Regions from separate parts of the Homo sapiens genome. Here regions 2, 3, 4, 5 and 6 are each linked to region 1. The links are contacts of gene promoters, found by promoter capture Hi-C in blood cells and fetal thymus (Javierre and others, 2016). All regions are on one chromosome and are shown on one strand. Each heading gives the region's core, a stretch centred on a gene start or on the middle of the fragment in contact. The rest is flanking DNA. Distances are from core to core; before and after follow the strand shown. Region 1 holds the start of SUCNR1 (succinate receptor 1). Region 2 holds the start of P2RY14 (purinergic receptor P2Y14). Region 3 overlaps MED12L (mediator complex subunit 12L). Region 4 overlaps MED12L (mediator complex subunit 12L). Region 5 overlaps MED12L (mediator complex subunit 12L). Region 6 overlaps MED12L (mediator complex subunit 12L).

Region 1 (4,476 bases), core at 1,480-3,979:
ATACTACCTCTTAGCAAACAGTACTACAAGCTTTTAAAAAATATATATTTTAAAAAGTGTTCATTGTTGTACTTAACTTTTTTTTTTTTTGAGACAGGGTCTCACTCTGTCTCCCAGGTTGGAGGGCAGTGGCACAATCATGGCTCACTGCAGCCTCGGCCTCCCCAGGTTCAGGCCATCCTCAAGCCTCCCGAGTAGCTGAAACTAAAGGCACGCACCACCATGCCCCAGCTAATTTTTGCATTTTTTGTAGAGACAGAGTTTTGCCACTTTGCCCAGGCTGGTCTCCAATTCTTGGACTCAAGTGATCCGCCTGCCTTGGTCTCCCAAAGTACTGAAATTACAGGTGTGAGTCACCATGCCCGGCCAGTACTGCAAACTTTCACTGCCTTTCAAACTTCCATTGATTCTCAAGCAGTGCATCTCAACATGTTATATGTAAAAAAAAAAAAAAGACAAAACAAAAAAACTTTGCCCCCTCAAAATTTGATGTGCTATACTGAATAGAAATAGTTTCTGAGGAGGTTTCTACTCTCACAGGCAGAACTGGCTACATATTTAGTAGAGCCCAGTGCAAAAGAAATATATGGGGTCCCTTGTTAAGAAGTTATGAAACATTTTAATTAAGAATGTGACAGTAGAGCATTAACTCAACTGTGTGATCTTTTTTGAGTGTGAAGCACTGTGAGACTACACAGTAGCATACCATGAAACCCACCCTGCTCACAGGGTCATAATTCTGAATCCAGCCTTGTTCCCGTGCAGCTATCATTTTGCAGACCTGCATAAAGCTTTGTAGCAGAAATACTCGTGACCTTTTAGTAAGTCTTTCCCAGTAACACTCTAGTATCTCAACTGAGAGCATTCGGAGGAAACAGGAAGTAGGACTTGGGAGGGAAACAAGGCTACCAGGCTACAGTCTAGATGACGTGTTCTATGAAAAAGGAGAAGCATAGACCAATTTTTGTCTTAGCAGCCAGAGTGAGATGGTAGTCAGGAAGTGGGACGAAGAAAGAGGAAGCTCTCGGGAACTCCCACCACCCCACAAAGGGGGAATTACTCTTTTCTTCCATCAGAATGGTGGCAGAAACCTGTGAAATACATCCATTTGTCTTTGTTTCTTGGAAGGGGTTCATGTTAATTTATGTCTAAAATTAACAAGCCTGGCATTGGTTATTCAAATGCTTTTTGCCCTTTTAAAAATATAGACAAAAATAATGTTTTAACCTTTCTTCCTTCTAAAAGTAGAAAAGAATTGCATTACTGAAAAATACCTGTTATTAATTCTTAGACTTTGTTGTGCACAAGGGTATTGTCATTCAATTCTGTAGGCAGTCAAGAATCAGAGTCGGTGCTTTTAGAATCCAAGTACATAGGCTTAAGCTCTGGTCCCTCCCGTTATTGATTCTGCAATCTTGAGAAAGTTAATTGACCTCTCTGAACCTTAGCTTTTTAATCTGCAAAATGAGAAAAATCTTAAATAATAACAACCTCAGAGGATTACTATATGCATTTGATGCATAAAGGTACTTAGTGTAATACCTGCCTGCCACATCACAAGAACTCAACAAATTATAGATATTTTTATTTCATGTAAATGCACATGTTTGTATACATAAATATTCATACATGTATAAATATATTTTACACATGTATATAAAGTGTGTAATATAGACACATATGTATGTATATATGTATGTGTATATATACATACATATATTTTGAGTTCCTGAGTTTTTAAGCTGTCAGATATTGGTGAGGAGAAATGCTTAGTTAGGAGGATGCCTGTAACAGAGCTTCTTTTTGGGCTTCTGCCTGTCATTGCTAACTCAATATTCAACTTACATAGCATTTAAATTGAATTACTGCTGCCTGCACAATTATGGGCTTTCTTAGTATAATCCCTATGCTTCACATCAAGAAGACTGAGTGTTTACTTGAATCTAAACCTAATATAATGCTTGGAAAAAGCCAGGTGTGCTTCCTGTCTGAAATGGTGGTAATGTACTTCCAGATGTTTTTCAGAGCATTGATTGGGATATATAAATTGCCATCTATTAAGGTTATTTTACTTAGCATCTCTCTCCCTAATCCCTAGCTATCTGATGTATCTTTTATGTGTTTCTTGATTTTAAGCACAGAAAATAAAATGGAAAATAACTTGAAGCTCTAGTATCTTTTTGCTAGTACACCAACATAGCATATATCCAGGTTTCCCTTTAAAATTTCAGTTTTATAGTTCCCTCAAAGTTATTGAAAACAGAGGTTTCGTTATTATATTCTCAATACAGAATTCACTAAGAAAATTAATTTTAAAAAAGAAGAAAAGCAGAGGCAACTGTATTCCCAATATAAGCAGTATTTACCACTTCTTATTGTGTAAATATGCAAATAAAATGAAAATAAGGAATGCTTCTCTGTTGCTTTGGTAGTGGATAAAATAAGTTCAACAGTGTTTTTCTAAAAATCTATTTGGTAAATGTGTTTCCTGTGAAATGAGTTACTTGTTTTTTGTCATTCAATTGCAAAACTGCATGTGAAAATAAAATAAATGTGAATGTGAAAATAAAAGCCTCACAAAAATTCCTCTGCATGAACATCTCTGACTGGGAGGTTTGACTGAATAAATTATTCCTGGGCTTTTGAATTATTAATCTTGGCTGCAGGATATGCAAATAGGATATGCAAATAGGACACTGTAATAACCATGTCCAGTGGCACAACACTGGGTCAGAAGCTATATCCAGCTGCTGGCAGAGTTCCTGTCAAGGGATCAAGTCTTCCAACAGAATGGTAAGCTACATGGCAAATTGTGCCTCTCAGTGTATAAAGTAAGGCCAGATTTCCTTCTAAAGGTGACCTGTGAGCAATTAAGGTTTTCAGTATTAAGTGTTTAAATTAATTCTTTATAAATAGATGTAAAACAGCAAAATAATTGAAAAAAAAAAGTCATTTTTATCTCTACGTTTATTTTTCAACAAATTAACTGTCTTCTTTTAGTTGTCAAATACTAATTTTATTTTATGTAAAAGGATTTATTATATTTGCTAACATCTCAACAACTTATATTTCAACAAAATAGTAATTGGATTTACCTAAATAAATATAACTACTTATGGGGAAAAATTAAAGTTCCTAAATGATTTGAAACAATCATGTATTTGATACATACACACACACACACACACACACACACACACACATATACATACATATATATATATATATATATATTTTTTTTTTTTTTTTTTTTTTTTAAGACAGAGTTTCACTCTTGTCACCCAGGCTAGAGTGTCTGAGTGCCAGAGTGACACATTTACAGCATGTGTTGGCTCACTGCAACCTCCGCCTCTGGGGTTCAAGCAATTCTCCTGCCTCAGCCTGCAGAGTAGCTAGGATTACAAGCGCCCACCACCACGCCCGGCTATTTTTTTTGGATTTTTTAGTAGAGATGGAGTTTCACCATGTTGGTCAGGTTGGTCTCAAACTCCTGACCTCAGGTGATCCACTCATCTCGGCCTCTCCAAGTGTTGGGATTCCAGGCATGAGCCACTGTGCTGGGGCATAATATTTTTATGTTTAGAAAATAATGTATTTGGGGGAATTTTCAGGCATCCTAAAAATTAAATTTAACATTTATGTGTGTAAAAATGATATTACCCAATAATTAATTTACTTAGGAAAAATGAAAAATTGCAGAAACCATTTCTATTCTACCTTCCATAACTTTTCAAAATGTGTGTGGTATTCTTAAAGAAGTTAATACACAATTTGTGCCATACTATTACTTTTTAATACCTTAATTTCTGGTGTAATGTATGGAATACATAAAAATAAAGTTACAAATGTTAAATTATTATATCTTTTCAGTGTGAATATATATTTTTGCTCAAATTATTTAGTAATCAAAAAAGTAATTTGTTAAAAAAAATTCTCATGTTACCATGTAAATTTGCCTTAAGGTAGCACTTAAAAGTAAACATTTTACAAATGTTATTTGTTTAATTGTGATGACTATAAAAACAAACAATTAAAAAGCTAAGAAACTATCACATATATATTTTAAAGTAAATTTCAAAAATGCAGATTTTCAAAAGGCTGAATATATTTAAAGTAAAAAACATTTTCAAGTTAAGTATTATTGGTCTGCTTATGTGAGTAAATTAGATATTGCTTCTAGTTCAATAATTCTAACAGTTTTAGATATATTTTTGGACTGGAAACTAAAGATTTCACTTTAATTTCTGCTCTTAAAAAATACCTATTCAAAATAATTCATCCAAATCAGTTACAATTTATTTATCACTATTTCCATTTCCTAAAAATTAAGAATATAGCCACTAGATAGCAGAAGAGAGAATATGAATTTTTCATGAGGGAATTTTCTCTTTAATTGGGAGTTTTGCTTAAAGGAGCAACTTACTTCATATGTTTATAGAATTGCGATGCCACACTAAAAACATACCCAACTATAAA
Region 2 (4,476 bases), core at 536-3,035, 590 kb before region 1:
AGAAGCAATTTTAATACACATTTACGAGCTTTTGAAATGTTTGTCCTGGATGAATACCTTTTAAACATTTTCCTTGATATCTCTTCATCACAGATATATTTTGACAGCCACGATTGGAAATCCTAAATCATAAATGATAATATTTCAGTATTGGATCCCCATATTAGCATGGGGAAATATATTAATATACCAATTATAGTTGTCAAACAAAAAGTAACCTACTGAGAAAAATGTGAGTGGCAATGGTTCAGTGTTCCTCAGCTTTGTTGCTGCCCAGCTCAGAAATCTTTTCTGTTCCCATGCACCATTCACATACATGCAAGTCATTTCATGGAAAAGCTGTTTTCTTACCTGCGTCTAGGCCTTCATCTGTGAGAGTCATGCTTCACTCATTTTGAAATACCTCTCATTGTAGGCTCCAAGGTAACACTGTTACAGAGTTCTTGCTCATCTTCAACTACGGATGAAAATCAGGAACTTGACAGAAACCACAAGATAGTGGGTCCCTCTGCTGCTGTTGTCAGATAGAATTTATTGAAGACTGGGACGTGGAAACAAAGAGGAAGGAAGAGACGTTTTAATCTCTGTGGGTGTTAGGCTGACTTCTGAGCTAGTTCCTTTCCTCCAGTAATGCAAAAACAGTCCTGCTTTCTTATTTCTCCTCCTACTTTTCCCCACATCCCTACATCATCTGATGCACAGCCAGGCAAAAACCTGTTTTCTTTTCTAACCTTTGCCATTGTCAAATTCAACATGTGGTATGAGGTGGAGAACTGATGTGTAAGATATGGTTCTTTCTGAAGCACCCTCAGAAAATTGTCAGCAGCTTCACAGTATAACGTGCAGAGATGGGTAGTTGGAGCTACCTGGAAATGCGGAATTAACAGAATAAAGAAGTATTTTGACACCAATGTCGACATATTCTAGATAAGAGGTGTTGCATTGTCATTTTTCCCACATTAATTTTCCCATATTTGAACATTACTGATAAATAGATCACAAGTAGGACTTCAGATAAACTCCTCGTGTGTTAACATTTTGGTGTTTGTGCTGTGTTACTATTTTGAAAGTCTTCATATTTTTAGTTCCTTTCAGGCTCTGTAATATAATTGGTGATGTCCTGCAGTGCTCCACTGTCTTTCCCATTGACTATTAGTGCCATTAGATTTGGAAGTTTTCAGAAGATGGCTACAAAGTCCTCTTCAAAGTGTATAACTCAGAACCAGAAAGAAAGAAGACAAGGGGCTGAAAAGCTTACTTTATAAGGTTCCTGCATTTTAAGTGTATTTACTTAGGCTGTTCCATTGCCAAATTATGGGTAACAACTAGTAAAGTTCAGCTTGCCTTAAAAACATAGCTATACATTTAGTTATAATAATTATAACTGGCTTATGACATGCCCGTTACTATTCTAGTTGCTTTATATGTACTTGCTACGTAGGAGGCAGTGTTCTGGACATTGGAGATGGAGTAGTGACTGACACATACCCAAACAGTTATTTCCCTCATGAAGAGTATTTTCTTACTTTCTGTCTCACAGACTTGCTAGTCACTGTTGATCCTTGGCAAAGACCTGTGAGACACAGAGCTTGTTTAGAGAAGTTCGCCATTTCTCCCTGCCAGAGGGACTCTTCTTCAGACCCCCAGCGGGCCCCAATAGTCCTCACTGATGCTTTGATTGAGGGGCTAAGAATACTGATGTGCATAGAGAGGCTTGTTAGCTTCAGCTGCAGTGAGATCTGGTAGGTAAATAAACTTAAGGACAAGTGGATGTGAGGAGGAGCCGCTAGAGCCTGGTTATTACCAGGGCACATTGCAGAGTCCTCCAGATGTAAACATTTTGCTGATTAAATTGATGATTTGGCAGGAACCGTATCTCTAAGGTGCGACTCTCAAGACTTCCCTGATTTATTGCAGGAGATGCTGTTTACTCTGACAGTCTCAAAAACACCCATTAATTGTTCCGGGTCCCTTTTGTGCTTCTTGACTTCCCCGTGGGGTGTTTCACATAGATGTTATTGAGTATGACTGGGGAGAACATGATAATTTGTTGCTTCTTGACTTCCCCGTGGGGTGTTTCACATAGATGTTATTGAGTATGACTGGGGAGAACATGATAATTTCTTTGACTGGAGCTGCTTGCTTGCCTCTTAATGCCAGGAGTTGCAAAGTCCAAGGCCAAAAGGATAGCCCTACAGGTGGTCCCCTCGTGGCAGGTGGTACAAATGGGTTGGACTCTGTGTAAGACACTTGGGAGTAGAGGGAGTATGGAGAAATGGAAAGCTAAAGGGCCCACCCAGGGGGACAGTTGTGTCTGGAAGCTTGCCAGAGTCATGGGCCTCATCTTGGGATGGGCCAGTGTCTTCAGAACATTAAACGCTGATTTGCATGTACTGTTCTAAACACTCTGTGTGTTTTAGCTTGATTACTCACAATGGCTCCATGAGTAAAGTAGGTCTGTCTACTACTTCTTCCCCACCTTTTTCTTAATAGACAAGGAAACTGAGGCATGGAGATGTTACATCAGGTTGCTGGAGCTGGGCAGATCCTGGAGCCTGTGCACTGCTACTGCCTTTATATGTCTCCTCTGATTTCATTTGTTGGTGTCTAAATCGAATACCTTACAAACCAGTGTAGACCTGATACCCTGTGGGCTAAAACAAAACCTGAGTGTGCACTGTATTGGGCTTGTGAGCAGTCAGCTTGTGACCTCTGTTCTGTGGTTTTATTGGCACGTAGCAGTACAAGGATGGTGAGGGGTGGGTAGGGGGCAGACAGCTAGGCACTTGAAAGGAAAGCTCATCTGGAAAGATTGGATCGTCTCAAATGCACATACTCGTACACTCGATTGAAGCGTACTCTGTGCCTACTAGATCTTTTCACAGCCAAAACACCTGGCAACCCTTGGAGAAGTAACTATTCCTTTTTTTCACAAGTAAGAAAATAGAGCCTCAGAAAATTTAACAGTTGTCTAAGCTAGAAAGTAGCAGGACTGGACTTTGAAGTAGTCTTTAGGTTGTGCTGTACATTTTGTGGATATGCTTAAATCACAGTTTAGCTTGTACACATTTTCCTTTATTAGAATTGGAAGTAAGTATTAATGTTTGAAAAAATATTTTAGCCTGACAATATTTATTCTATCTTCATATGTTTTTGAAATTAGATATTTTAAACTAGGCACGGTGGCTCACGCATGTAATCTCAGCAGTTTGGGAGGCCGAGGCAGGCAGGTCACAAGGTCAGGAGCTCCAGACCAGCCTGACCGACATGGTGAAACCCTATCTCTACCAAAAATACAAAAAAAAAAAAAAAAAAAAAAAAAAAGTTAGCTGGGCATGGTGGAGTTCGCCTGTGATCCCAGCTGCTCAGGAGGCTGAGGCAGGAGAATCACTCGAACCCGGGAGGTGGAAGTTGCAGTGAGCTGAGATTGCGCCACTGTACTTCAGCCTGGGCAACAGAGTGAGACTCTGTCTCAAAATAAATAAATAAAAAATAAAAAGATATTTTATTATGACTTTTAGCAACGTAGGTAATGACTCTTTTCAACACTAGACACCAGGCATAATACAACATAGCCAATAACGACATTATAATTAAAATAATAGAGGGCCTGGTCCTTGTGTGCAAGAATCTTTTAAAAAACAAAATCTAAAATAGTCAATATTTTCCTTTTATCTGTGGTGTTTTGATTTATGCTAAATAGTTCTGAATTCCCATTTCCTTTGGTGGAATCCTAAGATTAAAGTACTGTGATTTCCTCCTGACTAATCTTTTTCTCAGAGCCCTCAACATAACCCTGATATGACAACCACCCCTAGCCCACCCCACGTGCTCACACATTCTCCAATACCATTTAGAGACAGGACTCTGCCTTATTAGTAATAGGACTGGTTATATATAAACATCCCTTGTGTATTCATACTACAAATAGAATGAGTTTAACACACGTAATCCCCAAATATGTCTGTAACTGTTTCCAGTCAGTTTCTATCCAGGCCGTCATCGACTGCGCATAAATAGCTGGCTGGCTTACATTTTGATTCCATAAATGTCCTATTTTGCTCCTTACCCCGGAATTCACCTATGCATAATTGTTACCATATGTCTTTTGAAATCATTTTTCTTTAAAGTAAGTACAGAGACAACTTCATTGTTACTGCCCTTCCCCTGCCTTTCCCTGGTTGCTTTATTGAGCATAGTGAGTAAGACACTAGCGCATCCGGCCTCATCCCCACTTGCTCTCTTGGAGACTTGTTCATGTGAGCCCTGTATAGACCTTATTCTTTTTCGTAGCTTTGTAGTATTCCATAATTTGTTTAATCAGTACCTATTGATGGATTTTCAGATAAATATGAACATTTTCAATGAATTTATTTTAACCATAGCAGATATTTGCTGGGTTATATAATTTAGTTTTTTTTTGTTTTTTTTTGTTTGTTTGTTTGTTTTGCTGGCAAGTTATTTATAATTGTGTGT
Region 3 (4,476 bases), core at 900-3,399, 580 kb before region 1:
ACAGGTAGCTCCTGCTGTGGATCCACCACCACATTCTTGCTGCTGCCACGCTTCCCGCGGACTGCTCCAGGCCTGTGATTGAGCATGGCAGGGACACCAAGACAAACCTGTTTTTGTAAGAGGAGGGGTTTCTCTGACAAAGGACTTTGGCTGGAGGAGTACTTACCAGTCTTCAAACCTTTTCTTTGAACTTTCTTCAAACTGCACTGTTCCTACTCAATCTTCCTTCCTTCTTTCTCCCACAAGTGGTTGGAAGGCTGTGCCAGCCTTCTGCTTGTCCCCATTTTCCCTGGTAGCCATTTTCCCCAGTAAATCTCTTGGCCATTTAAGCACATTTTATCATCATTATTTTTGGGGAACCTGAACTAATGGAATTAATTTATAGATTCACCTTTTGGAGGTAAGGTTAGAAGGAAGATCATTTCTCAATTTTTACTTCCCTGTAATTAATAATATTTACTATAGTTATAATTATGTTTTGGAATGGTTTTGTTATAGAGATAACACCATGAATTTAAGCCCTCACTGCCCTGCACACAGGCAGTTTAGTGTCTGTTTTGGTTCCCTTCTTTGAGGAGAGAAACAGGAAAGTTTTGATGATTAAAATCCAAAAACAGATTCCTAAATTGCTGCTTGACATCTAAGTGCAGGCTCTTCCTAATTCTTTCCCTTTTATTCCTTACCATGAGTGTTTTTAAAAACTGGTTTCCCTGACCTAACTATCCTTACACAGGCTAGTAATTTATATCTGGACTAGCCTGTTATGAGACCCATAGTATTACTAAGCTTTACAAGTTAAAATGCCTGATTCAGCAGCCATCTATATCACTGCTGCCAGTTTGTAATATTTCCTTGTACAGTATCATTCAAGCCTATTTTGATTTAATGACGTGTTGTAGTCTTGGCTGTTTTTGCATCATAAGATCCAAATCAGTATCAGTGACGTTAGGAACTTCTTAAGATGTGTGGCTTTAACTGAGTTAAGATGTCTGCTTGAATTAATTTACCCAATTAAATGATTAGCAGTCACTTTCATCTAACCTGGGATAGAACTCTTAGGGAAATAGAGAGAGGACATGTGAGTTTAAATCGGAATAAAGGGTCCAGCTGAGGGACACAGCCTGAAAAGGAGCAGCCATGTCATCTCTTGAGGTGCTGGCTGTGCCTTGTAACAATTACTTATGAATTGCTTTTCAAAATCATTTTAAATACAAATATATTAGTTCATGAGCTACAGCATACTTGGCAGGGAATATTTCAACTGCTTGTGTTGGCTCCCTGGGGATCTGCTATGCATACCTATCGTGGAGTGCAAGAACCCCTACTTCACAGTGTTGCTTAGGGATATGAGTTCCATATATCATTATAATATTTTAAAGTTTAATTATATGAACACATTCTTATTAAATGATGATATTGATGATGATTTTGCCTAACAATTATGGTTATTATTAAAGATAGTCTCCAATCAGAATGTCAAAAAAGGTTGTGTGTGTGTGTATACATATATACATATATATATATTATTACTCTCCTGGTTATTACTTCATTCACAAATTTCACATTTAGGCAGCAAAGCTTAAACAAATTAGTGGTTAAAGCCTGTTATGGGTTATTTGCTGAAACAATATGGTAGTAGAGACAAAAAATGGTTTGTAAGAAGCAGATGAGCCATTACTCATCTGGTTGCTCTGGAAGGCTCAAAACTTAACTTTGAGAGTTTCGTGTGATTAATTTGTTTTTTAGAATTAAGTTTATATCACATTCTTTTTTGCCAGCTAATGCCCATCATTTATTCTCTATCATTGCCTTAAATATTTCCAAAACGTATAGGTGTACTCAGAAGCATTTCTCTATATGATATTTCCACTCAGGAATATTGACCAGTAAAAGTGAATGGCTTTCTTCACCCAGGCAGTTTTATCATGTTGTTCTTCCCTGACAGTAAAGAACTTGGCCAAGTTAGGAAACATCTTTAATTGACAGTAGCTTGGTCATTCAGTTAAGAAAAATTAGAAGCTGTTTTACAGTGTAAAGGCTGTTTTCTCGCAATATGTGCATGCAATGTTGGATATTATCAAACATGATTTCCCCATCCCTTCTTCTTGTTTACTAGGGTGGTATTCTCTGGATTGTATAGTGCAGGGCTTGACACAGAGCGATAATTGAGAGTAAAACCTACTTTGGTATTCTCTCTGACTCTCATTCCAATTCCTTTTAAATTAACAAATGCAGTGACATAACTCAGTTTACTAGTTCCATAGTAAATTATTTTGTGCCATGTGTGAGGGTGGTATTTGTTTGGGACGTAAGGGAACTTTGGCTGTCTTTGCCGGGGGGAATAGGTTTGTGCATGTGTGTGTACAGGACTGAGTGTGTGTGTTGGGGAATGCTTGGGCTTTGTAGCCAGATATAGCACAAACCACATGTGGCTTTAAACTTTTAAATTTAAATTAAACATAATTTAAAAAATTAATTTCCTCAGTCATACTAGCTACGTTCAAGTTTCCCGGTAACCACATCTGGCTACTGTATTGGCCAGTGCAGATACAGGGAATTTTCATCAATGCAGAAAGTTCTATTTGACAATGCTGGTTTAGCCTCTTAATAACTGTAAAATGGAATACATAGCTGTCTTGCTGGATCTTCTGAGAGTTAAATGCTTTGCAAACATTTTGACTACAGTATCTAGTACTTAGTAGGTATGCATTCTATAACATAAAGCTTAATTACCATTTCTCTTGTTAATAGAGTCACATTATGAATGACAGAGTAGGGAAGAATCTGCCACTTTTGCCTTTGGTGAAGCTACATCATTGTTCACTGGGACGTGACACTTGGCACAAAATGTGAAAGTCTCAACATATGTCACTGCTCTACCTGCCAGGTGGGAATGAAATAATAAAAGTCATTCAAATTATAGGGTGTCACTACCAGGGCACAGCTGCCTAGGTCGGTCTTTCTTTCTTTCCTTCTTTCTTTCCTTCCTTCCTTCTTTCTTTTCTTTTCTTTTCTTTTCTTTTCTTTTCTTTTCTTTTCCCCTCCCCTCCCCTCCCCTCCCCCTCCTCTCCTCTCTTTTCTTTTCTTTTCTATTTCCTCTCTCTCTCCCTCTCTTCCTTTCTTCCTTTTTTTTCTGATACAGAGTCTTGCTCTGTCACCCAGGCTGGAGTACAGTGGTGCGATCTCAGCTCACTGCAACCTCTGTCTGCTGGGTTCAAGCGATTCCAGTGCCTCGGCCTCCTGAGTAGCAGGGACTACAGACGTGCGCCACCACACCTGGCTAATTTTTTGTATTTAGGTATGATCATTTTCCAAATAGTTACCCAGTAGATTAGGTAGATGTTATCTCTGGCCTCTTGGGGAACCTCATGAACCTTGGTTTAGACTATTAAATCTGGAAAGTAATACGTAATTTTAGTTTGTGTTTAAAATCTTCCATAAATATTATTAATTTAATCCTACTTGTCATTTTAGAGATGATGTCTAGATGAAACAAAGTTTAAAACAAAATGATAGCAAGCTAAATTTATCTCAGCGATACTGTCCTGCATGTTTGCTGTTTTATACATAAGGAAACACAAAGCTAAATGCTGGTTTATTTTGTTAGTTGGTTCTCTGACCATTAAACTCCCCAAATTCCCAAACAGTGGAAATAATAGTCATCAATAAAGTAAGATTTTCTTTGTATCTCTTACGACGGCTTACTTGGTAATTTTGCAAGCGTCAAGTTGAACCCCATTCTTCAGTTGTGATGCACTGTAAGCAAAGATGCGTGTCAGGAAACACTTGGGGACGATTGAGGCGTGGGTTCAGCATAGGTTATTCCTGGTTTGATTTCTGGGGAGAAAATGAAAAATGAGGAAAAAATCATCTGGGAAGGAATTTTAAAATACAACATTTTGGTCTTTTCAGTTAAAGCAATTGCCTCCACGATTCAGAAAGCATGTGCTCTTTGGAGATGAACACCTGGGCCACACAGAGTTGCCCTCTTTCATAATTCCCTGCTGGGAGTTATGTCTTGTGGGTGACTTTGGCTACATACCTTAACATTTCTGAGCTTTGCATTCTTCACAACATCTTAATAAAGGTTAGCTGAGACCATATGTATGTGCAATGTTGGATATTATCAAACATGATTTCCCCCACCCCTTCCCCTGCAGCTGGGTCTGTTCCCTGTTCTCTGGATTCTATCACGTATTGACCATAGAAAGCAGAATTCCTGGGAACTGTTCTGGAAAGTGCAGCTAAAGTAAAATATGCTTATAGGACAGTTTACCATTAGGGGAAGTCACACTCTTTCTCATGAAATAAAACCATGTGAGACTTTCAGGTCCCATCACTGATGTTGCTTAAAGAGACCCCAGGTAACCTCATTCTGTCCAATCACAAAGCAAACTTGAGGCTGGTGTGAGCAGTTACTTTTGTCCCTGCATATGTGCTGAGATAGCAGGGAAAGGGCATGTGGGAGGCAGGAGT
Region 4 (4,476 bases), core at 995-3,494, 550 kb before region 1:
AGTGTAGTTCCACAGTGTTTGGAACTTGGTTGGCATTTAAGGGTACAGGAGCACTTTGTCTTTTGTCAGAAGGTGAAGGGAGAGCAAGCGAATGAATGGGGTGTCTGATGCATGGTGGAGTTGGAATGATATGCCTCAGCTTAGAAGTTAAGGTACATCCATAATTTTGGTTGCTTTTAGAAAGCTTCTGGTTTCCTATTAGTGACAAACTGATGATTGCTTGAAATGCTTTTTATAATCTTTTTTGACAGTTTTTTTCTCCTGTAAAGAAGGAAGTTTGGACTTCTTTATTCCAGACTATCTGAAATTGTGGGAATCTATAAAAGCTGAGGTTAGAATATATGGGGAGAGAAGGGAGGTCGTCTCAGTAGGGTTACTGTGTTCAGGATAAAGCTTCATTCATTCACAGTTTGGGCATTTTTGGACTTAGGAAACTCAGTTGTACAGTTAAATAGAATAAAAAAAGACTTAAAGACCAGTGACATTATGTGTATATATGATATAAAGTCAATACATAAAGCTAATATTTTTTTTAAAAAACCCAAAGCTATGAAAGCCTTCAGAAATACATTAGATACAATTAAGATCAACACCAGTAAGTAAAGTCATATACACACATTTAACGTTTAAACTGAAGTTCAAAAATAAAGGTGGACATTCTGTTATTATGCCTCAGGATGTTATATTTGTCAGTTTGAGTTGTATTACAAGAGTGGCAAAAGTTCACATGCTGAGTAAGTTATGTAATTTTTAAAGAACTAGTTTACTTCCTTAAGTCTTAAATTTAATTTCCTTTCTCTTTCATATTATCTTGCCTTTTTCTTTCCCTTTTATCACTCCCCCCAATTGTCTCAACTTCCATTCCTACCATTTTCTCTTAGTGTCCCCATCTCTCCTTTCCTCTGACTTCCTTTCTTCCCATCTTATTTTTTTCTATAAGGACTTCATATTAGAATGAGAATGGAGGCAAGGAAGCAGAAACCCGGGTTACATGGATATTGAAAATATTGATACACCCAGTTTCTGACCAAGGCTGAGTTCTCTGGCCTGTGTGGTTGCACCCAACTGTTTGATTTGTACTTCTCTGTTAGCTATTTCACATGGAACATGTTCACTATGCACATCATAGCATAGAAAGGAATTATTCTACATGTTCATAGAAATCCCTGGGAAAAGCCTAACTAATATAAAAGCTGATTTGTTTCTCCCTGGAAGTCTTTTGAGGCAGGGTCTTGCTCTGTCATCCAGGCTGGAGTGCAGTGGTGTGATCATGGCCCACTGCAACCTCAACCTCCTGGACTCAAGTGATTCTCACACTTTTGCCTCCCGAGTTGCTGGGACTACAGGTGCATGCCACCAGGCCCAGGTAATTTTTTTTTTATTTTTTTATTTTTTGTAGAGTTGCGGTTTTACCATGTTGTCCAGGCTGGTCTCAAACTCCTGGGCTCAAGCAATTCACCTGCCTTGGCCTCCCAAAATGCTGGGATTATAGGTGTGAGCTACTGCATCTGGCGCCCCATGGAACTCTTTTAAACTGACTTATCCATTATGGGAAGATAAGGGTTGCTTCTACTTCCTCACTTCCCATTCACAAACTGGAGCTCACCCCACTTCCACCTCAGAGTTATCGTTGACCTTATAGTTGTAGATTCATCACTTTTGACTAAATTTAGAGTGTATAATTCTGTTGGCTATCTCTTCCTCCTTGAATCTCTCTTGTTCCTTGGTATTCAGTACACTGGACTTCCTGATTCTCCTTTTCTACTAACACTACCCACTCCTCCCAGTTCCAAGGCATCATCCCCTGTTCCTCTTCTGTCTGTTGTGACCATGAGACCTGTGTAGTATGGCCTCTGGGGTTCTCATCTCATTCCTTTTTCTCTCCCTGTCTCAAAAAAGATTATTCCCTAGACCTCTAATCTTAGTCCTATTTTTGGAGCCTGGGTCCATATTTTGGCCCAGCTGTGGGCTCTTTGACCCTAGCTCTTTCACTGATACCTCAAATGGAACATACCCCAAATCCACTTCTGTGATGATGACCTAGCAAATCGTTCAAGCTAACGGTCCTGAGAGAAATCAACCCTCAATTCGAGGAGAAGGGGGTGGAGGCATTATGGATCCCATTGCTAATATATTTTACATGTTAACCACATGTTTTACATAGAGTCCCCCACTTTCAATGGTCTTGGACTCTGAACTTAAAACCTCTCTCCCTGAGAATGTCTGGAAGGTCCATGTCAGATGTTTTCCCCATCATTCTTGCCTGCATACATGGAAAGCCTCTTTAATTGACCTGGCCTCACTGGCTCTTCCTTCAGTCTAGAATCATCCTATAGTTGGTCAATTGATTTTCCTAAAGCACAGCCCAGAACATGTGGTTCTTCACCTTAGAAACCTTCAACGACTCATTAGTGAAGACTAGATGTCCCAGTACAGTGCTTGGCTGTACAGTCCTGCATCTCTGTCCCAAATGTATTCCCTATGTCATGTGCTGTAGGCTCAGGCCCCCTGCAACCCTCACGCTCCAACCACAGCACAGTTCCACCCCTACCTGAGCCTGCCTTGAAACTGCTTATTGTGCCGCAGGGTTCCCTTTTGAATGCTCTGTTTTCTTCAAGTTCCAGTTCAAATTTCCATCTCCTGTGAACCCTTCTTCATTTTCTCCATGTGGAATGAATTGCCTATTCCTTTGAACTTCTGTGGTGTGTCTCTCACACCTCTTATCACATCTTGAGTCATTATAATCTGTGTTCCTTACCAGTGTTCACCTTCTAGAGATGCAAAAGGCCCTGTACCCAAGTTGATGATGAAGGAATGACTGGCTAAATGAACAAATGAATCCACTATTGGGGAGTTTACTCCCCCTGAGCTCTCAAGTGCTGGAGGGACCCCTGAAGTAATTGTAGGTGCCACTATTGCACCATTCATACCCCTGAGGTTGTTGAAGCCCATTCGTGTTGAGACTTCTCTCTTCCCCTCTAAGAAGCCTCCTCATTCTCCCTAGTGGGGCCTTTGAGGAATTCTGCTAAGTCTGACAGGACAGAGAGGCAGTGACCAGAGCAGTTGAGGTGCTGGTCTTGAGACCACCTTCCTGGGTTTCAGTCCCAGCTCTGCCCCATTTGTTGGTGAGTGATGTGCACCATGGGCAAGGTGTATGTTTACTTTGTGCTTCAGTTTTGTTCCTATTTTTAACTAGAGAGCCTAGTAGTATTTGTCTCATAAGATTGTAGTAAGAATTAGAAAAATGATAATCTTTGTAAAGAGCCTGGCACACAGCAGGCATTCAGGAAATGAGTGTGAGCTGCTTGGGTAAGGTCCTGGGAGGTTCTTGTTAGCCTCTAGGTCAGGGCTTATTACCTGGCAGCATCTGGGCTGGTTACTACCCACACAGAAACGTATCGTTTTTGTGGGGTCAGGGAGCATGGGGGTGGCTACGGAAGTTTTGTAAATAACAGGAAATATAGCATGGGAGACTGGAATTGTGAATTCACTTGAGAAAATTAGACCTGAGGTTGTAAATACAGTTGTTAAGAATATGGGCTTAGAAGCCACGTCTCAATTAAAGCCCCATTCCTGCAGATGGCAAGCTCTGTGACCTCATGCAAGTTACTTAGCCTTTCTGTTTCTCAACTTCTTGATCTCTAAAATGAAGATAATAAGCATTTCATAGCCTGCCTGGGATTATTAAAGGAGACAGATGTGCTGCTTTGTTGTTTTGATGGTTCTAGCAATGTGTATTTGGAGAATCTCTCCAGCCGATTCCGGTAGCCACTAAAATTTGCAAACTAATATGGCACATGTGTTCTGTATTCATATTTCCTACATTTGGTTTCTATGTAAAATTTCAAATGTTGAGATGTGTTTCTGGGTGCTTCAAATGATTTGTAAATTCTGCACTTTCCTTAGTAGGGCTACTGTCTTCTAAGTATGTTTTTTCTTAAATAATAGATAATACTGACTTTGGGTTTTTTTGCTCTGGATATTCTGTTAATATCTGTGTGAACTTTGATTTGTTAATTTGCTGAAGGAATACAGTTTATGTCGGGGTAAGAGTTAAGTATTTTAGAAAGAATACCTTGGAAAGTTATGAAAGGCAAAAGCTTTTAAATGGATATGGAATGTAAGAAATAATGGGATTAATAAGATTGAATGATTGTTTTATAAGTTATGACATAATGACTTTATCTACCTTTTGGCTTCCATGAATTGAGAATTCTCACTCCTTCTCTGCCTCATCCTTTCCACTTTACAGTTATCTTCCTTGGTTTCTCAAGAATTCTTCCGAGTGTGGGAACTTCACTCCCTTCAACCCCTCTCTTTTCTTGAAGGTTATTGGGAAGATCTTATCCTATTTATTTGTACAAGTAATTACATTTTAACTTTTGACAAAAGCCTTTGTATTCTGAGCTCACATATTCTATCAGTCCAAAGCTATTATTTTCTTTTATTCTTTTTGGTGTATCATTTATGACTATA
Region 5 (4,476 bases), core at 527-3,026, 530 kb before region 1:
TTTTACTGAAACCTGCTATAGAGTTGATGATTTATAACTTCGAGTTATGGTTATTTTCTATGCAAATGATAAATCCAAGTTGAGATCAAGCCTTCGAAGTCTGCTTCCTGGAGAAGATTTTAAGCTTGCTTTCTTGGGTGGTTAATTTATCTGAAATATATTGTGTACAACACTGGGTGATGTATTTTCTTCTAACAAGTAATTATGTTAACTCAAAATGCGTGCTGGCTAGGGATGTTAAGTCTCTGGCCCTTTGTTTTTCCCTTGGTTAATAATGTCATTATTTTAAACCTGTGTTTGATTAACTCCTTTGTAGGTGAAACAGCTTCCTTCTATTATAAATTAGCAGATTCCAAAATTACATTAGAGAAGTGATTGTATCCATTGCCAGGCTTATTATATACTGTGTCGTTCATGCTTTTCTTGAATAGAATTTAAATATAAACAATTTTTTTTTGTTTCTTTACCTAACTTTGAGTTTTTGGGAAAATATAACATTAAATTAAGGCATCCTTGTATCACAATTATTTACAGTTGTTTAACTTTGAAACCAGAAGGGCAAAAAATATGTTAGGGGTGAGATTGAAGGGCAAAGTGTTTTGCTGCTTTAACTTTTTTTTTTTAATTTTATTATTATTATACGTTAAGTTTTAGGGTACATGTGCACAATGTGCAGGTTAGTTACATATGTATACATGTGCCATGCTGGTGTGCTACACCCATTAACTCGTCATTTAGCATTAGGTATATCTCCTAAAGCTATCCCTCCCCCATCCCCCCACCCCACAACAGTCCCCAGAGTGTAGTGTTTCCCTTCCTGTGTCCATGTGTTCTCATTGTTCAGTTCCCACCTATGAGTGAGAATATGTGGTGTTTGGTTTTTTGTTCTTGCGATAGTTTACTGAGAATGATGATTTCTAATTTCATCCATGTCCCTACAAAGGACATGAACTCATCATTTTTTATGGCTGCATAGTATTCCATGGTGTATATGTGCCACATTTTCTTAATCCAGTCTATCATTGTTGGACTTTTGGGTTGGTTCCAAGTCTTTGCTATTATGAATAGTGCCGCAATAAACATACGTGTGCATGTGTCTTTATAGCAGCATGACTTATAATCCTTTGGGTATATACCCAGTAATGGGATGGCTGGGTTAAATGGTATTTCTAGTTCTAGATCACTGAGGAATCACCACACTGACTTCCACAATGGTTGAACTAGTTTATAGTCCCACCAACAGTGTAAAAGTGTTCCTATTTCTCCACATCCTCTCCAACACCTGTGCTGCTTTAACTTTATGTAAATATTGCTTTGCAGAAACACACCTCCCTGGTGTCTCAAACTGCAGTGTCCTTCTGTTATCAGTGGGAATCATTTGTGTTGGTGCCTTTGCTGTGAACACGTTTTGGTTTTTTCTTCTGCGTTTTGAGTATTTGTCTATGTCTTTACATGTTAAATATCTTCATTGGTTTTCACAGTGCAGAGCAGCAGCTCTGCATCACTTGGGAACTTGCTAGAAATGCACATTTTTGGGCACCAATCTAGCTGAGTGAATAAAAAACTCTGGGGTGCCCCACCCTGCATCTGTATTTTAGTGAGCCTTCCATTGATGCTTGGTACACTCAAATGTGAGGACCACTGATTTAAATGGAATAAGAATTTTGTTGCCATTTAGAACTTGAAGCTATTAATATCAGTCACTTCAGACACATAATAATCCCCAAATGTTGGTCATCTTAAAGGGATTAGTTTGATATTAAACTCTTGGAAAGGGTTGTATTGTTATTTTTAAATATGACTATTGTAAACAAATCTTAGCCTTCCTTATTTGTTGGAGTCTCAAAATTTTAAAAAGAGCTTTTATGCTGTATGTACTTCAAATAATAATTGTCAATATTTAATTTCTTACACTGTCATGGATTAACTCACTTTATTAATAATCTCAACTATTCTCTGAAGTACGCGTATCATCCTCATTCTCTGGATGAGGGGAACTGAAGAGCAGAGCAGTGAAGTTAGATGGAGACCCCATTCTGACCTGTGCTGTCTAGTTAGCCTTAGAATCTGTATTTGTGTATTTCTGTACCTGAGAATCTTTCCCTATCACACCCTCTCCTCAACCCCTCTCCCACTAAGAGGCCCCAGTAGTGAGAAGTGAATCTCGTGTGGGATGGTTGTACGTCTTTCAATAAAATAAGGACCATACTCTCCTTTACAGCAAATTGTAAATGCTAAAGGATGTTTATGATGCTTTTTCTAAGACCATCAAATGAAACAAGGCTTATTCAAGAAAATGATTATTTTTAACAAATCAATCTGCCATATTACTAATTCAGAATACTTAAGTCATACTACCTTATTGAGAATTTATATTTCTAAACCTCTAGAAGGGCTAACAGTAGAGATTTGAGGGATAAAAGAAGGGCTTCAGTTCTTGATCTAAATTAACTTTATTTTTCCTCTGATTTTTAACTCACAACCACATACCTATTTACAAACCACCTCTGATAACATTTTTTCATTGGAGGAAGACTGCCAGTTAGACCACTTAATGCTGAAAGTGACTAAAATCTTTAAGTGAAAAGTATCTCAGTTACAGAAGTATATTTTCATATGAATAGAAGCAGAGCAAGTTATAGATACTTTAATCTCTCATTAGTAAATAACATCAACACATACAGTTTGTAGTTATTTGTGTTAGTGTTGGGAACAGAGCTAACTTTGGTTGGTTTGGTTATTTTGTATAATTGAGATGAGTTAGAAAAATGAACAGAATTTTTACTTTTAAGTGGCTTAACTGGTTTGTTTATTTTACCAAGTCTACTAAAGGTAGTCTGCTCATCTGAAAATGTTTGCTTCAAATGGGATTACTCTGAAACCTGTAGTCTTTTGGAACTGGGCAGGAGGATAGAGATATAATTATGACATTTGATAGCTCTTAGGCTGTTTTAGTTCCAGTGGTCTCTGGTTCTAAATGTGGTCATTTTGACATTAATATTTTGTTTGAGGGTGTGTATTTTAAAGCAGTGCATAGTCATGTCTGCTAGCTTGGCTTTATCCATTGGAATATAGAAATTTAGGTTAGATACCAACAGGTTCCAAAAGTAACGAGTCTTGGGCATTGAAATATTTCGCAAAAATGAATGCCGTCTTTTGTGACCTAGTTATCTGACATCCCAGTCTTAAGTGTTCTGCTTGCAAGAAGAGGACTAGTAGATATATAAATATCAGTCATACTGTGGACTATAAGCTGTGTAGAACAAAGATTTAATATACAAATGTAGTTAAATCCGCCTCCTATTTTCTTGATTTACAGAAAATATACTCTATGTATAGTTACTAATGATTAAAAAAAAACCTGTTAATTTCTTCATTCCTGTAACAGTTTCCTCATCCATGTGCACACCCATTCTTCCTCCCAGGCTCGAAGCTTATTCCTGATGGAACATTTATATGAACTTGTTTTATTCTAAACAAAATAGCATGGTATATTGAAAGATACAGCTGAAAGAAATAGTGTTTTAAGGCATCTTTTAAGAGTTATTTAATAAGCTAAAAATTTTAACTAAATGCATTTATTGTTTCTAAAGACTGGTTTTTACTGCTTTTCTTAGAGACGTGATAGGTTGCTATGTGCAGTTTACTTCCGGATATATACTGGATTTGCATTTGAAGTAGAGCATGCAAAAATTAGGAAGTACTGGGAAGTATGAAGTGCCATATTTTGTCTTATCAGAAGGACAATTACATCCACTTCATCTGTTTTTATTAGTGTTTGGAAGAAAGGAAGCGCATTCTGAGTGAGATCTTTTTCATTTTTCCTTAAGGACATTAGTAATTTAAAAATTCTATGATAATTGAATCATTGTTGAAATATCAGAAAATGTGAGTAAGGTGAAAGGATAATACACAGCTCTGATCATCTTACCATCATTATGACATCTTTGTCAACACATACACATTTTGGCAAAATTTCTAATCAGTTATTTTAAAGAAATAAAGATGAATTAGAGCAGACCTCAATTCCTTTAACTCCATTTCTTCTTTCTAAGGACATTTGGCTCAAGAGACATATTTTAATTCGTGTAGTACAACAAGCCTGCCAGGGTTTTGGGCATGCATGTTTCTAGTTTCTTCATCTATTAAGTTTCTGTGAGTATGAGATAATATCTGGAGAAAGAAAGTAATTGATCTAAAGGACGAGATTTTTAGAACTTAGTTTACATGGGAGATGACACATTCAATTCAATAGCAGCAGGTGGACTAGGATAAAAGAGGTAGCCTGACGTCTCCTGTAACAGACTCTCCAGTTGATGCTTTTCCTTGTCCAACAACTGTATCCTTGAGGGAATAAACAAGAGTAATTTTTGGGTGTTTATCTCAGATTATTAATATTACTTACAACTGTGCAACTTGAGGGCGTTTAAACACCAAGTTGAAAGAGCAGAAATCGTTGATACTTTTGAAAATATT
Region 6 (4,476 bases), core at 1,441-3,940, 510 kb before region 1:
TCAAAAATAAATAAATAAATAAAATTTAAAAAATAAAAATCAATGAACCAATTGCTGTACATTAACATCATTTTAGGGACATAGTACAATTTTGAATAATTTAGACATTGTGAATTAACAGTCTTAAACTAACATTTTATTTAAAGTTGTGTTCATAGTTTTCAATTAAATAATTATCATTGGTGCCAAAATATATACCATTTAAAAATGTGAGAGTTTTGAGTGTTTCTTCTGTTTTTTTTTGTTGTTGTTGTTGTTTTTCTTTTGGTCTTTGTTATTTTCCTGAAGCAAAGATGAAAGTTTATTTGCTCTTTATAATAGAGCATGTTTTAGGTTAAGAGCCAGAACAAACCTTATGATTTGATTTGCCCCACTGTGTTATTTCTTATGCACATTTGAGTTCATTATTTCCTTCTGCTATTAGCAAACAGAAATAAGACTTGGTTTCCTTTGTTTATTTTATAGGAGATATTAACTTTGTTAATGAAAAGAAAAGCCAAATAACTTTCATTTTATTAAAAAGACAAAGGGGAGAAAAGTGAGGGGTGGGGTTTTCTAAAATTATACAGTCCAGGACCTTGCACTGCCCTGAAGTTTCAGTACCTTATTTCAGCACTGGGTACTTCCTAATTGTATACATCCTGATGTCTAGACAGAAGAACAACTCTATAAATTGGAAAAGGATTAAAAATTTTAAAAAAGTTAAATTTAGGGAATGTATTTGTAGTGTAATGACTCAGTATATCTATGGTTTATAAAAATAAATGTTTTCTCTATTTGTTTTGGCACCTACATGTTTATTCAGTCTTTTCTCCTGTTACAGTTACTAAATGAACTGAGTGTTGTGGAAGCTGAACTGCTCCTAAAATCCTCCAGCCTGGCAGGAAGTTATACAACAGGACTGTGTGTCTGCATCGTGGCTGTTCTCAGGCGCTATCACAGTTGTCTAATCTTGAATCCTGATCAGACAGCCCAGGTGTTTGAAGGGTTGGTATATAGCATGTCATTGTTGTTTTTCCAATCTCAGAATGTATAACTAGTGATGAAATATTATAGTGGCTTTAAAAGAAAAATAGTACTGATACCTGTTTTAGTTAAAACATGGTTAAAGAACACTCTTGCCAGAAAACATCGATCAAAAAGGTCTAAGCATGTAAAGTATGTTCTTTCTAATAATGTGTGATTCCTTCTTCCCTTCCTCCTTGCCTTTCTTCCCTCTCCCTGGTTTCTAAGTACAAAGCTAGTCATTTATAGCACTCTACGGTTAATGTTGGCCAGCATCCTGGCATATTATGAATAGTGAATGCTGTAACTTCTTTATTCATGTAATTTCAGTTTATGTTTGCAGACTCAACATCAAATAAGCTTTGCATACATTATCATCTTAGAAATTTGGTTCTTCAATTGCATTTCTTTGATTAAAGATATCTTTTGATAAGAATTAACCTAGAACAAATTACTTCATTTTCAGTTGTAGGCTGGGGCTTACTCTACTAATGAAGTTGAGCTACAGAATTAGCTAATACCACCCCCATTAAAGACTGAGGCTAAGGCACCAAATTAGTGTAAATGAGCTCTCAAAAACTTACATAAGCTGCTTTTTATCCACTCTCCAGGGCTTTTTATTTAAACACAGAAAGACAACCTGTTATTTCTTTCTCTTCAGTTTTTCCTTCTGAGCTCAAAAGAATCATGGGGTTCTTTGGTTTTATAGTACCTTTTATTTTTTTAATCTAGCACATGTAATCAATTTATATGCTATCCTAGAATGATATCAATTTAACAGTAGCTATTCTGGGAAAGAGGAAATGCTACCTTTATTTGTATTAATTACATGTTATGAAATGAAATCTGAAACATCCTAAAAACATCAGAATGTAAGAATATTTACATATTAGAATTCAGGAAATAGAGAATTATTTAATAACTCAGCTACTGTATAAAGTTTGAATTTAGTATTATTTTACAGCCCAGGAAATTGAGATTCAGGCCTGTTAAGTGTTTGGTGAAGTGATGTACCCTATATCACATAGCTAATAAATCTCACAGATTTTAATAAAAATCTTTCGAACTGGAAGCTTATTCATGCTGTTTAATCTATGTTCTACTTTTAAAATAGTATATTGAAACCCATTAGTTGGTCATGAAATGAATTTAATGGGTTGTGACAAGTTTTTTTGTTTTTGTTTTTTGTTTTTAATATTGTTATTTTGAAATTGATTTCAGTATCATTTAGTTTGGCCTTGAAAATTTTTATCCTGTTAAATATTCATAAAATCATATTTGACATTAACTTTGTTGTATTTTTACCTTATATTAGTAAGGGTAAGTATTATGCTTAAAACTATTATTTCACTTCTTCGTACTTATGTGAACAGTACACTGGATTACGATGTGAAATGTTTTTCTTATTGCTTGCAAATCAAAGAAGTTGAGGAAACACTGACTACTATACGATGGATACCTAAACCTAACAGACTCTGAATAAATGTTTATTTACTTTAGTCACAAAATAATTTTTCGCTTTATAGATAATATCAGGATTTTGTTTAACTTTTATTTTAGAACAGATTTATTACAGGTTTATTACAAAGGTATATTGCTTGGTGCTGAGGTTTCAGGTTATGATTGAAACCATCAGGAAGTGAGCATAGTACTCAGTAGGTAGTTTTGCAGACCTTTCCTCTGCTCTCTGTCTCCCCACTTCAGTAGTCCCCAGTGTCTGTTGTTCTCATCCTTATGTCCACGTGTACCTCATGCTTAGCTCCCACTTACAGTGAGAATATGTGCTTGGCTTTCTGTTTCTGCATTAGTTTGCTTAGGATAATGGCCTGCAGCTACATCTATATTGCTGCAAAGAGCATGATTTTGTTCTTTTTTATGGCTGCATAGTTTTTGGTTTGCTTGTTTATATAGTTAACAGGTTGAATCATTACTTTTCTTCTTAATTGTGTGACACTTTTGTTCTAATTGGCAGCTTTTACCTGCTGCTAGGTAGTCCCATCTGTTGATGTCATTTCACAGGGTTTGGGATACTACATTGCCATTTCCTCAAGAAGTCTCCTTGGTTCCACCTATGGTACCTGTGATTCCATTGTCCTCCTTGGCCTAGACATCCTATGTTCTCTCCACTTTGCCCTTTCCCCTGAATAGTACAGAGGAGTTTGATCTGGGAGTCTGGAAACCTAAGCTGTTGTCTTGCTTCTGCTAGAACTAGCTCTTTGCCTTTGAGCAAGTCACCCCACCTTTCTGCCTCTCAGAGCCTCCTTTATACAATAAGGATGGTGAATCAGATAGTTTCTAAAGCTTTTTTCGTCTTTAATAATCTGTCATCTGTGACTCCGTTAGTGTAATATAATGGCTGAGCCCTGTAACAAAATACAAGATGGTGATGGAATCAGATGCACAGATAGGTGAATGGACCACAAGTGTTTACAGCTGTGGTGTATGGACTTCTGTGTTGTATGGACTGTGGACAAAGAGGCCTATAACTACAGGAGTTATACAGAATATTACAAAACAGAAGGGGCTTTATCTTCTTATATAAGATAAACTAAAATAAATTTATTACTAGTTGGTATACATAGGGGAATGTATACATGCATAAGGGGAATGTGACTCCAAACCATGAACTGCTTATGCACTTGAAAATGGGTTTTCCAGATTGACTGCTTTGAAGCATTGCTCCTTTACAAAGGAGAAAACTTGGGAATCTTTGCACGCTGATGGAATTTGTGAATCTGCGGAGGCAGGGGCTCTCTACAACAGTTTTCCTTTTGTGTCTCAGTCCCAGCAACTTAATCGGTGGATTCCTCCATACGTACCTTCTTTATGAAGGAATTTCTTTCCTTGCTTTTGTTTCTTGTCATCAGTGACATTTCTGAAGTTTTTTTTAAAATCTATTTCAGTGTCATAATAGAAAAATTATATTGTACTGAGTTATTTACTATTCTATTTATTAGTTTCAACAATCCAATATCCTTTTTCTTACCCAAGTGATACATATTTTCATTCTAAAAGAGTCAAATGATAACCCACATAGTACAAATCTATGTCTTATTTCTTCGTATATTTTTCTCCTCAGGTTGTGTGGTGTGGTCAAGCATGTCGTAAACCCCTCAGAATGTTCTTCCCCTGAAAGATGCATTTTAGCCTACCTCTATGATCTCTATGTGTCATGTAGCCACCTCAGAAGTAAATTTGGAGACCTCTTCAGGTGAGTAGAAGAGACTCAAAAGGACAGAAATAGGATCATGCCTATGTTTGTTAGTGACCCTGACAATATTGTCATCCTTTTGAATAATGAAAGCTAATTGCAATTGTATCTATTAGGCAGTAATTTTGATATACTCATGATTTGTTTAAACTGAATATTAAAATAGACAGGGACAATACACGATAGTCTATTACACAATGTAAATGTGTGATCATAGGTTTTTTTTCCCCCAATATTGAAATGATGTTAGGTCTGATTTT

What was found. The method cuts DNA at HindIII sites, captures the fragments that hold promoters and counts their contacts. A CHiCAGO score of 5 or more calls a contact.
Region 2: a contact is called between a fragment that was not itself captured here and the fragment with the promoter of SUCNR1 in region 1, in 4 of 17 cell types (M2 macrophages, monocytes, M0 macrophages and 1 more). The highest score is 10.5, in M2 macrophages.
Region 3: a fragment that was not itself captured here is called in contact with the fragment with the promoter of SUCNR1 in region 1 in 5 of 17 cell types (M0 macrophages, M2 macrophages, M1 macrophages and 2 more); the score reaches 9.2 in M0 macrophages.
Region 4: a fragment that was not itself captured here is called in contact with the fragment with the promoter of SUCNR1 in region 1 in 5 of 17 cell types (M2 macrophages, monocytes, M0 macrophages and 2 more); the score reaches 9.9 in M2 macrophages.
Region 5: a fragment that was not itself captured here is called in contact with the fragment with the promoter of SUCNR1 in region 1 in 3 of 17 cell types (M2 macrophages, monocytes and M1 macrophages); the score reaches 5.9 in M2 macrophages.
Region 6: a contact is called between a fragment that was not itself captured here and the fragment with the promoter of SUCNR1 in region 1, in 2 of 17 cell types (M2 macrophages and monocytes). The highest score is 5.6, in M2 macrophages.

Annotation. Positions count from the first base shown.
Region 1 is chr3:151,870,914-151,875,389 of GRCh38, forward strand. It overlaps SUCNR1 (succinate receptor 1), which reads left to right and starts at 2,730. Exons shown (of 3, transcript NM_033050.6): 1 at 2,730-2,793. All of the region lies in intron 1 of AADACL2-AS1 (AADACL2 antisense RNA 1), which reads right to left. The HindIII fragment of the contact is 8,098 bases long and covers 790-4,476 here.
Region 2 is chr3:151,277,936-151,282,411 of GRCh38, forward strand. All of the region lies in intron 16 of MED12L (mediator complex subunit 12L), which reads left to right. It overlaps P2RY14 (purinergic receptor P2Y14), which reads right to left and starts at 607. Exons shown (of 3, transcript NM_014879.4): 1 at 352-607. The HindIII fragment of the contact is 1,068 bases long and covers 1,252-2,319 here.
Region 3 is chr3:151,296,362-151,300,837 of GRCh38, forward strand. All of the region lies in intron 16 of MED12L (mediator complex subunit 12L), which reads left to right. GPR87 (G protein-coupled receptor 87) reads right to left here. Exons shown (of 3, transcript NM_023915.4): 2 at 3,706-3,837. The coding sequence starts at 3,739. Among named protein-coding and RNA genes, the nearest start is that of GPR87, 18 kb to the right of the region's middle. The HindIII fragment of the contact is 1,146 bases long and covers 1,577-2,722 here.
Region 4 is chr3:151,320,983-151,325,458 of GRCh38, forward strand. The region is part of intron 16 of MED12L (mediator complex subunit 12L); the gene reads left to right. Among named protein-coding and RNA genes, the nearest start is that of P2RY13, 6.3 kb to the right of the region's middle. The HindIII fragment of the contact is 3,707 bases long and covers 392-4,098 here.
Region 5 is chr3:151,340,955-151,345,430 of GRCh38, forward strand. The region is part of intron 16 of MED12L (mediator complex subunit 12L); the gene reads left to right. All of the region lies in intron 1 of P2RY12 (purinergic receptor P2Y12), which reads right to left. Among named protein-coding and RNA genes, the nearest start is that of P2RY13, 14 kb to the left of the region's middle. The HindIII fragment of the contact is 3,309 bases long and covers 123-3,431 here.
Region 6 is chr3:151,356,390-151,360,865 of GRCh38, forward strand. It overlaps MED12L (mediator complex subunit 12L), which reads left to right. Exons shown (of 45, transcript NM_001393769.1): 20 at 824-987; 21 at 4,085-4,216. All of the region lies in intron 1 of P2RY12 (purinergic receptor P2Y12), which reads right to left. Among named protein-coding and RNA genes, the nearest start is that of P2RY12, 26 kb to the right of the region's middle. The HindIII fragment of the contact is 1,228 bases long and covers 2,077-3,304 here.